Linked DNA regions of Homo sapiens: region 2 is linked to region 1. The links are contacts of gene promoters, found by promoter capture Hi-C in blood cells and fetal thymus (Javierre and others, 2016). All regions are on one chromosome and are shown on one strand. Each heading gives the region's core, a stretch centred on a gene start or on the middle of the fragment in contact. The rest is flanking DNA. Distances are from core to core; before and after follow the strand shown.

Region 1 (4,257 bases), core at 564-3,063:
TGGCCAACATGGTGAAACCCCATCTCTACCAAAAATACAAAAATTAGCTGGCAGTGGTGGCAGGCACCTGTAATCCCAGCTACTCGGGAGACTGAGGCACGAGAATCGCTTGAACCCAGGAGGCGCAGGTTGCAGTGAGCCGAGATGGTGCCACTGCACTCCAGCCTGGGTGACAGAGCAAGACTCTGTCTGAAAAAAAAAAAAAAAAACTTACTTGAGACTGGGTGATTTCTAAAGGAAAGAGTTTTCATTGACTCAGAGTTCTGCATGGCTGGGGAGGCCTCAGGAAACTTACAGTCATGGCTGAAGGGGAAGCAGGCACCTTCTTCACATGGTGGCAGGAGAGAGAGAGCAAGAGCAAGCGAAGGGGGAAGAGCCCCTTATAAAACCATCAGATCCCATGAGAACTCACTAGCTATCATGAGAACAGCATGGAGGAAACCGCCTCATGATCCAATCGCCTCCCTCCTTCAACACCTGGGGATTACAATTCGAGGTGAGATTTGGGTGGGGACACAGCCTCACCACATCATAGCCATTCTGCCCTCCCTGCCCTGCCCTGCCCTGCCTCCAGGTCTGCCTCCAGACCTGGAGTGTTTCTGAGAGTGGACCCAGCACAGGGAGGAGGTGGCTCAGGACACTCAACTCCTGGTCCAGCTCCCACTCATAGCTGGGGTCCTGGCCGGTGACTCCATCTCCCTTTCTGCTGTCTCCCTGTCTATAAGACAAGGGGCTGGGCCAGCCATCTCAAGGTCCCCTCCAGTTCCATCTTCCCAGGGCTGAGCAGGTCCTGGGCCTTGGCGTCACAGAGCCCAGCTCACAGGCCCACCCGGGAGAGGTATCGGGATGTGTCTTTGCCACATCATAAGTTAGGCAGAAAGATGTGTGGGACGTGGCCCTGCCCCCGGTCAGGACGGTGGACACATGCAAACGCCGCACAGACGCACCCTGCCCTGACACCGCCCGGAGCACCTGGGTGGCTTCCTGAATGGCGAGGCATGGTGGGCACTCATGGGCCTGCCGTGCACCCCACCTGCAGGGCACGTGCCCAGCAGACAGCAAGGGCTGAATGACAGGTGACAGGACGGCCGCCAGGCAGGCGAAGGTGGGGCCAAAGGCAAGGGTGGCTGCTCGGCTGCAGGGCACGGACACTCAGCCTCTATTTCCTCCTGGGGTGGCGAGGGGGGGCGAGGGAGGGGCGAGGGAGGGGCGAGGGGGGGCGAGGGAGGGGTGAGGGAGGGGTGAGGGACGGTCAGACCGGATGTGGCTGTGCTTCAGACCGCGCGGGAAGTCCTGGGATGGCGTGGAGCCCGCTTCAGCTGAAGGGACAGAGGGAGAGGCAGGGGCCAGACAGCGCCAACCACCTGAGACCCAGGCAAGAGACAGTATGGTGGGTGGGGGTACTGCCCAGTAAGGGCTGGGGGAGAGGACTGAGGAAACCCTCCCTCCATCAACGTGCCTGGGAGCCCTGCCAGGTGAGAGCCCTGTTGTTCCTGGATGACTGTGGACCGCTCACTCCGGCCCCTCAGCCCCTACCCAGCCTGCCCCCAGGAGCAGCACGGCTGGGCACCAGCATCTCTCCAGCTGGCAGTTGCCCCACTGGGATCCCCCAAATGCCCTGCAAGCCAAGGTGTGCAAGCCCTGCACACTGAGGGCTGGAGGGCAGCCCCCGTGCTGTGTTCCAGATGGAGGGAGGGGTGGGGAGGGGGGAGCTACACTGGGGAGGGCTGCGCCGGTCACTGCCGAGGAGGGAAAGCCTCAACATCACCCCTCTTACCCCCCATCTCCCGCAGCCTCCCAGCAAGGTTGTGGCCCGCAGCGGACGCTCCCCACGAGGTAGAGCCCCGTTTCCACACCTGGAGCAGCTGCACCTGGAGGTGGGGCTCATCTCCAGACCTGGAGCAGCTGCCTGCCCCAGGGCAGAAGCCACTGCCCGCAGCTAGGTGAGGCCATGTGCCCAGTCCTGGTCAATGGACTGAGCATGAGGGGATGTGTGCCCAGCAGCAGGGACTACTGTGCACTGAAGGCCAGGGCCGCTGGATTGGGACAAATAAATACAGCAGGTCCTCAAATCCCATCGTTTCATTCTAGGGAGCATTGAGGAGGTCTCCCCAGGTCCGCGCGGGTTTTCTCCAGGTCCTCCAGTTTCCTCCCACATCCCAAGTATACACCTCAGCCTCACGGCATGTCTACATGGGCCTAGTCCGAGTGAGTGTGGGTGTCCCATGGAGGCCTGTCCTATCCAGGGCGGGTGCCCACCTTGGCACTGAGCCTCCAGGATGGGCCCTGGTCACCTGCCACTCTGAACTGGAGAAAGCAAGTTGGAAAATGAATGAATACATGAATATAAATTATCAAATAAAAATTATAAAGCCTACGGTAATCACACAAACGCATGACAACAAACGCCGCGTGTGAGGGTGCTCAAGGAGCCGCCATACTCACGGTCGCTTGTCTTTCAGCTGTGCGGTGGGAGGAGGTGCTCCCAAGAGCGTGTGCTTTGCAGACATTGATTCCGTGATTTCACCACCACCACTACCACCGCCGTCACTCACAGACATCCCAAATATTGGGTAGATCATGATCTCACTTGTTTGTATTAATCTTCCTTATGTAGGTGTAGCTACCTCTACATGTAGGGATAGTTTACATTTATTTCAATGTTTAATATTAGAAGTGTTTGGGTCTTTAGAAATTTGGTGGTGTTTTTTGTTTTTTTGTGGGGTTTTTTTGGAAATAGGGTTTTGTTCCGTCGCCCAGGCTGGAGTGTGGTGGTGTGATCACAGCTCACCGCAACCTTAGCCTCTGAGGCTCAAGCAATCCTCCCACCTCAGCCTCCTAAGTAGCTGGGACCACAGGCACACACCACCTTTCCTGGCTAATTTGGGGGGCATTTTTTGTAGAGATGGGGTTTCATCATGTCGCCCAGGCTGGTTTTGAACTCCTTGCCTCAAGAGATCTGCCACCTCAGCCTCCCGAAGTGCTGGGATTACAGGTGTGAGCCACCACACCTGTTCTGGTGATGTTTTGAGAGCAGAAATATGCCTCTTTTTTTTTTTTGAGACAGAGTTTCACACTTATTGCCCAGGCTGGAGTGCGGTGGCGTGATCTCGGCTCACTGCAACCTCCACCTCCCAGGTTCAAGCGATTCTCCTGCCTCAGCCTCCCGAGTAGCTGGGATTACAGGCATGCACCACCACACCCAGCTACTTTTGTATTTTTAGTATTTCTCCATGTTGGTCAGGCTGGTCTTGAACTCCCAACCTCAGGTGATCTGCCCGCTTTGGCCTTCCAAAGTGCTGGGATTACTGGTGTGAGCCACCGCACCCAGCCTATGACATAGGAATTTAACTCTTGTTTATATCAACTAGCCTATGGTAAAATTGGTTTCATTATATGTTGTCTTGCTTAAAGTCACAGTTTCCAGGAAGCTGTGATGAAATTGAGGACTTACTGTATGCCATTATCTGTTTAAAAGAAATGATAAGTACCAACCCATGGCCCCTGTTTCCATGGGACCTAAGATGAAATGCCCAAGGTAAAGGCGATGGCTTCCATCTCCCAGTCCCCCGAGCCTGTCTGAGCTCCAATACTGGTTCTCTGTCCTGTGCCGTACCCCTTGGGAGACACTGACTTTCTCCCCCCAATCCAGTGGTCCCAAATAATCACCTCTGTAGTTGCAGAAGTGGAGAAGTGGACTGAGCCTTCACATTGCCTGAAAGATGGGGAACTCCGCCCTCTAGTGTCCGTCAGCACAGCAAGTGGGACACTTCCATTTCCAAAGTGGAAAGACGGTGCCTTTAAAGATGTAACCCCAACGGAGGTCAAGGTCTGAAAGGGGCACATTCTTTCCATGACTCTAGCCTGATAAAGACACCCACAACCCTCCCGCCACTTGCAAGATTTGATCCGAAACCAGCTTCTAACAGCTGCCAAACTAAAATGCCTTAGAGACATGGGGTAACCAAATTACAAACGCACGTTCCATTTGATGCAGCCATGCCACCTCTAGAACTGTATGCTGCAAATACAGAGTCGCACATGTGCAGTCACCTGTGCACAAGATTACTGTTGCAGCTGTTGGTGTTAGTGAAAAACGGACACTCCCTAAATGTGCACCGTAGAGAGTAGGTGTACCAGCCTCTGCTGCGTGGAACAGCCTGCAGTGGTTGAAAAATGAGGAAATCTGCACATTCATGTTCACAGCAGCGTCATTCACAACAGCCAAGAGGTGGAAACAACCCAGGCGTCCACCAA
Region 2 (4,257 bases), core at 815-3,314, 380 kb before region 1:
ATTTTTAAAATATTTTTAGTAGACACAGGGTTTCACCATGTTAGCCAAGCTGGTCTCGAACTCCTGACCTCAGGTGATCCACCCGCCTCAGCCTCCCAAAGTGCCGGGATTATAGGCGTGAACCACTGTGCCCGGCCAAATCTTCATTTTTATACATAAACAATAGGGCAGAGGAAGCCATCAGATATGCATTTGTCTCAGGTGACCAGAGGGATGACTTTGAGTTCTGTCCTTTGTCCCATACCTGTGAAGATAACTTACCAATTTACATTGCCAGGGTGAAAATCAACAGAACTGTTTTAGGGTATAGATCTTGAGGCAAATTGTGAAGGAGGTATGTAGCTTTTTTTTAATCTTTGTAGCTATCTTATTTAGGAATAAAATGGGAGGCCTGACGCAGTTCCCAGTGTCAACAAAAAGAGTCAAACTCTCTAAAATATTTGAATAGATTTATTCTGAGCCAAATATGAGTGACCAGTGGCCCATGACACAACCCCAGGAGGTTCTGAGATCATGTATCCAAGGTGGATGGAGTACAGCTTGTACATTTTAGGGAGACATGAGACATCAATCAAATGCATGTAAATGTACTTTGGTTCGGTCTGGAAAAGCGGGACAACTGGAAGGTGGGGGCTTCCAACTCATAGGTAGATTCAAAGATATTCTGATTGACAGTTGGTTGAAAGAGTTAAGTTATTGTCTAAAGACTTAGGAATGTCTGGGTTAAGATAAGGGTTTGTGGAGACCATAGGTGAAGCCTCCAGGTAGCAGGCTTCGGAGACAATAGATTGTAAATGTTTCTTATCAGACTTAAAGACCCTATTCTATCAGTAATTCCAAAAGGGAAGAGGGTATAATGAGTCATGCCTGACTTCCCTTCCCATCATGGCCTGAACTTGTTTTTCAGGTTAGCTTTGGAATGCCCTTGCTGAGAGGAAGGGTCCGTTCTTGTCGGGGGACTTAGAATTTTATTTTTGGTTTACACCAGCTTGACTTTGCCCTTTGGCTTAGTGATTTTGGGGTCCCGAGATTTATTTTCCTTTCACAAAGTCTTCCTGGTCTTCAAGAAGGTGCCTTGAGAGCCCTTCCTTGTGCCGCCTTCTCCTCGGGGACCCCTGCCCCTGTGGCTGCAGTTTACCCTGGGTGGAAAAGGCACCCATGCCCAGGCTGGCTAGAGCCTCTGCCACTCAACTGGTTGGGCCTCCGTATTCCTTGGGTGCTGCTCCCACTACCTGTCCAAGCCACCCACCAGGGCCCCAGACTCCCCTAGCACTTCTCCTGGGCTGTGTCCTTCCCTGGAGGCTGCTGAGCTGCCCTGGACTCTCCCCACAGTCACACCACGGTGGGATCCACCCATAACCCCTGCCCTGACCCACAGACACTTATTGCCTGAATCAGGTGTGGACAGAGTTCAAGTTGTTTCAGTGATGTCCCTGGCAATTCAGTGGAGATGACCACAGATCTGTGTCTGTCTCTGTGTGTGTGTGTGTGTGTGTGTGTGTGTGTGTGTGTGTCTTTGTGTGTGACTGTGCCTCTGTGTGTGCCTATCTGTATGAGTCTGCATGTATGTGTGCATGTATGTCTGTGTGACTGTGCCTGTGAGTGTTGTTTCTGTATCTTGTCTGTATGTTTTTGTGTGTCTCTGTGTGCATCTCTCTCTCTGTCTGCGTCTCTGTGTGTGGGGACTGTCATACCTTCCTTCCCATGCTAAACATACCTGTGTCTTGACTCTAGTCCGGCAAGCTTCCCTCGCTACACCTCTGCCTCAACCCTAAGGAATTTGGCTGACACGCATACTAAGGTTTTCTAAGGGGGAGTTGGCTTTTGGCTGTGTGGGCTGGAACTAGGGTTTAGGGGAATGTTTGTCTCCCATTTGCTTCTGGCTCTGCACCCCCGTGTATGAGGGGGCAGGAGGGCACTGTGACTGCACCTCTCCCATGAGCCCAGAAGATACGTTTTACCCTGTGGGCACTGAAGACAGGGCCAGGTTTCTAGGGCTCTATAATCTTTTTAACTATTTTTGGCTACAGGTCAAGTGTAGATGTGTCAGGGGTCATAGACCTCTGAATCCTGCAGGACAAACCTGAAGCTATCTGCTTCATGGAGTTAAATGTTCATCAGATTTGCATTTCTCCCTTAAAACCTTGTCACTGGAAACCTGGGTGGAAGTCTGGCCCAGTGCAGAAGCCACCAGACTCTCCTGCCAGCTCCAGAGGCTGTCTTAGGATCCAGAGCCCCTTGCTTAATCCTGTTTTCTCTGCTGTGCTGGAAGAAAGTCCCATTCCTGGGTAATTGCCAGAAGAAAGGCTCCGTCTTAAGGTTAAAGGAGCTAGAATCACAAGGGGAATCAGTAAACCCAGTTCCCAGGCCAGGGACCCAAGCTTTGGGATGAGCGATCTGGTCTTCAAGGCCAAAATGCTTGCTCACCAGCTTTCTTTCTCCTCCACACTCTGTCCAGGTTTGGGGGCACTGTCTTAGGCCCCTTTGACGTCATCAGCACAAGAGACTCAGAGCAAGGAACAAAACTGCCTGTACTCGCCAGGGCTCCTGATGCTATCGTCTCGTAGGAAACCCTGAATGAGGTCTGGGCAGGTGAAAAGCCTTCCTGTTTGTCCTCTCAATTAGTCACACTTGGTTCTGAGCCAAGCCGTCTGCTCCCATGTTAATCCCCAGCCTGGGAGGGCAGGCTGCAGCCGGCAGGGCTTGCACAACCCGCAGTCCAGGCTGCAAGGTGGCTTCTCTTCCCTGTATTTTGCAGCCCCGGCCCTTACTCAGCACACACTTTCTTGTTTCTGAGTCCTTCCAAAACATTCTGGTCTGGGCTGTACTTTGTGCTGTTTGGGAGAGGCACCCCTCACCTCAGAGGGCAGCTGGAGACCTCCTGTGTGAGGAGGGCTTGGCCTCCTTCCTGGGGTCTCTGCTGCTCAGGCAGGGGGCTCCCTCTCCCTCTCCATGTGCTTGTGGGTGGGGGCAGAGGTCCCGGCCTTGTCTCATGTAGAAGAGATGGTTCCAGGCCACATAGGCCTGAGCTGGTCTGCTGCATGGAGTGGCCTGACCACCAAGCAGAGAGCAGGAACGGCAGGGGCAGTGCTTGTGCTTCGGGGTTTTTAGGGATTTATGAATGTGCACACCAAGAACAGCAAACAAACCAAAGTTCAAGTTATTTCTCTTTCTTACAAGTCTGCATGAATATAGTCTCTTCCAGAGGAAGTTGATTAAACTCTATTGCACCAGCCTCTGAAGAATGCATAGTATGAAATAGCAGAGCATTTCTTGTGGCTCCCAGATCTGCCACCTGCAGTGGGGCCAGGCTACCCGACAGCTCCCAGGCCTCTGGGCACCATAGCTGTCTTCAGGTGCTCCAGCTCAGGACATGGCCATTCAGAGGCAAGAATCAGCAAGCTCCTTCCAGGCTGGGGCACATCCTGAAGCCCCATCAGAGCAGCCCCATACAGTGGCTTAGGGGTGTGGGCTTGTGTCCTCCTCATGGAGGAGGGGAGCACGTTTTCCCAGCAGCTCAGGTTTCCAGGGCCCCCCCACCTTCCAGGTGTGACAGTTTTTCATACTTAAAACATCACTCAACTATCAGAGTGGTATACTGGGGAGAGGCAGGGCTGTGACAGAGAGCTGAAGTGGTGTGCAACAGTCACAAACAGCTTTCACCTTTGACCTTGGAACATGTGATGTGTTTTGCCCAAGTTTTCATTTCTCCCTGATTGCATTTAGCTTGGGATCTTGTTAAAATTCGTCTGCATTTCCATAGCATACCCTGAGCACTCAAGAGGCAGGACAAGGGGTTCTAGCCAGGGACCCAGATGTTCCTGCAGACATTGCACACTGGAGGCAAGCGACGCCACCAGGGTGAGGCTGTCCTGATGCAGCATCCCCAAAGAGGCTGGGCCAGGGCAGCAGATTTTCCCTGCAACAGGGCATGGGGCTCCTCCTGTCCCCTGCCCCTTGGGCCTGGGCCTCACAGTGTGGACTTGTCTGAGGTTTACCTGGTGCTCCGTGGCGTCATGAAAGCCTGTTCCTCAGGTGTCTCTGCCATTTACCCCTCTGTCCTCTAGAGAGCACCCATTGGGTGACAGGCCGACAAGGGTCTTGCAGAATCTTTGGTCTGGCACCCTGAGAGCTTGGAGCTCTAGGGTCTTTCTCCATATGACACCAACAGGCCTGTCTCTTGCGGAGTGATGGGTCTGGGCGCCGGACACTTCTTATGCCTCCTCACAGCTTCCACACTTATCTTTGCGCCAGCCA

Evidence for each region. Contacts are between HindIII fragments. The CHiCAGO score rates a contact against its expected background, and 5 or more counts as called.
Region 2: a fragment that was not itself captured here is called in contact with the fragment with the promoter of FRGCA in region 1 in 6 of 17 cell types (naive B cells, total CD4 T cells, total CD8 T cells and 3 more); the score reaches 6.8 in naive B cells.

Annotation. Positions count from the first base shown.
Region 1 is chr21:43,138,648-43,142,904 of GRCh38, reverse strand. FRGCA (FOXM1-regulated, gastric cancer associated) reads left to right here and starts at 1,813. Exons shown (of 2, transcript NR_133677.1): 1 at 1,813-1,943; 2 at 2,092-2,382. The region is part of intron 4 of LOC101928369 (a long non-coding RNA gene); the gene reads right to left. RefSeq lists enhancers at 347-882, 883-1,420. The HindIII fragment of the contact is 22,159 bases long and covers 1-4,257 here.
Region 2 is chr21:43,515,404-43,519,660 of GRCh38, reverse strand. It overlaps a transcript of HSF2BP not described here. Among named protein-coding and RNA genes, the nearest start is that of LINC00313, 39 kb to the right of the region's middle. The HindIII fragment of the contact is 638 bases long and covers 1,746-2,383 here.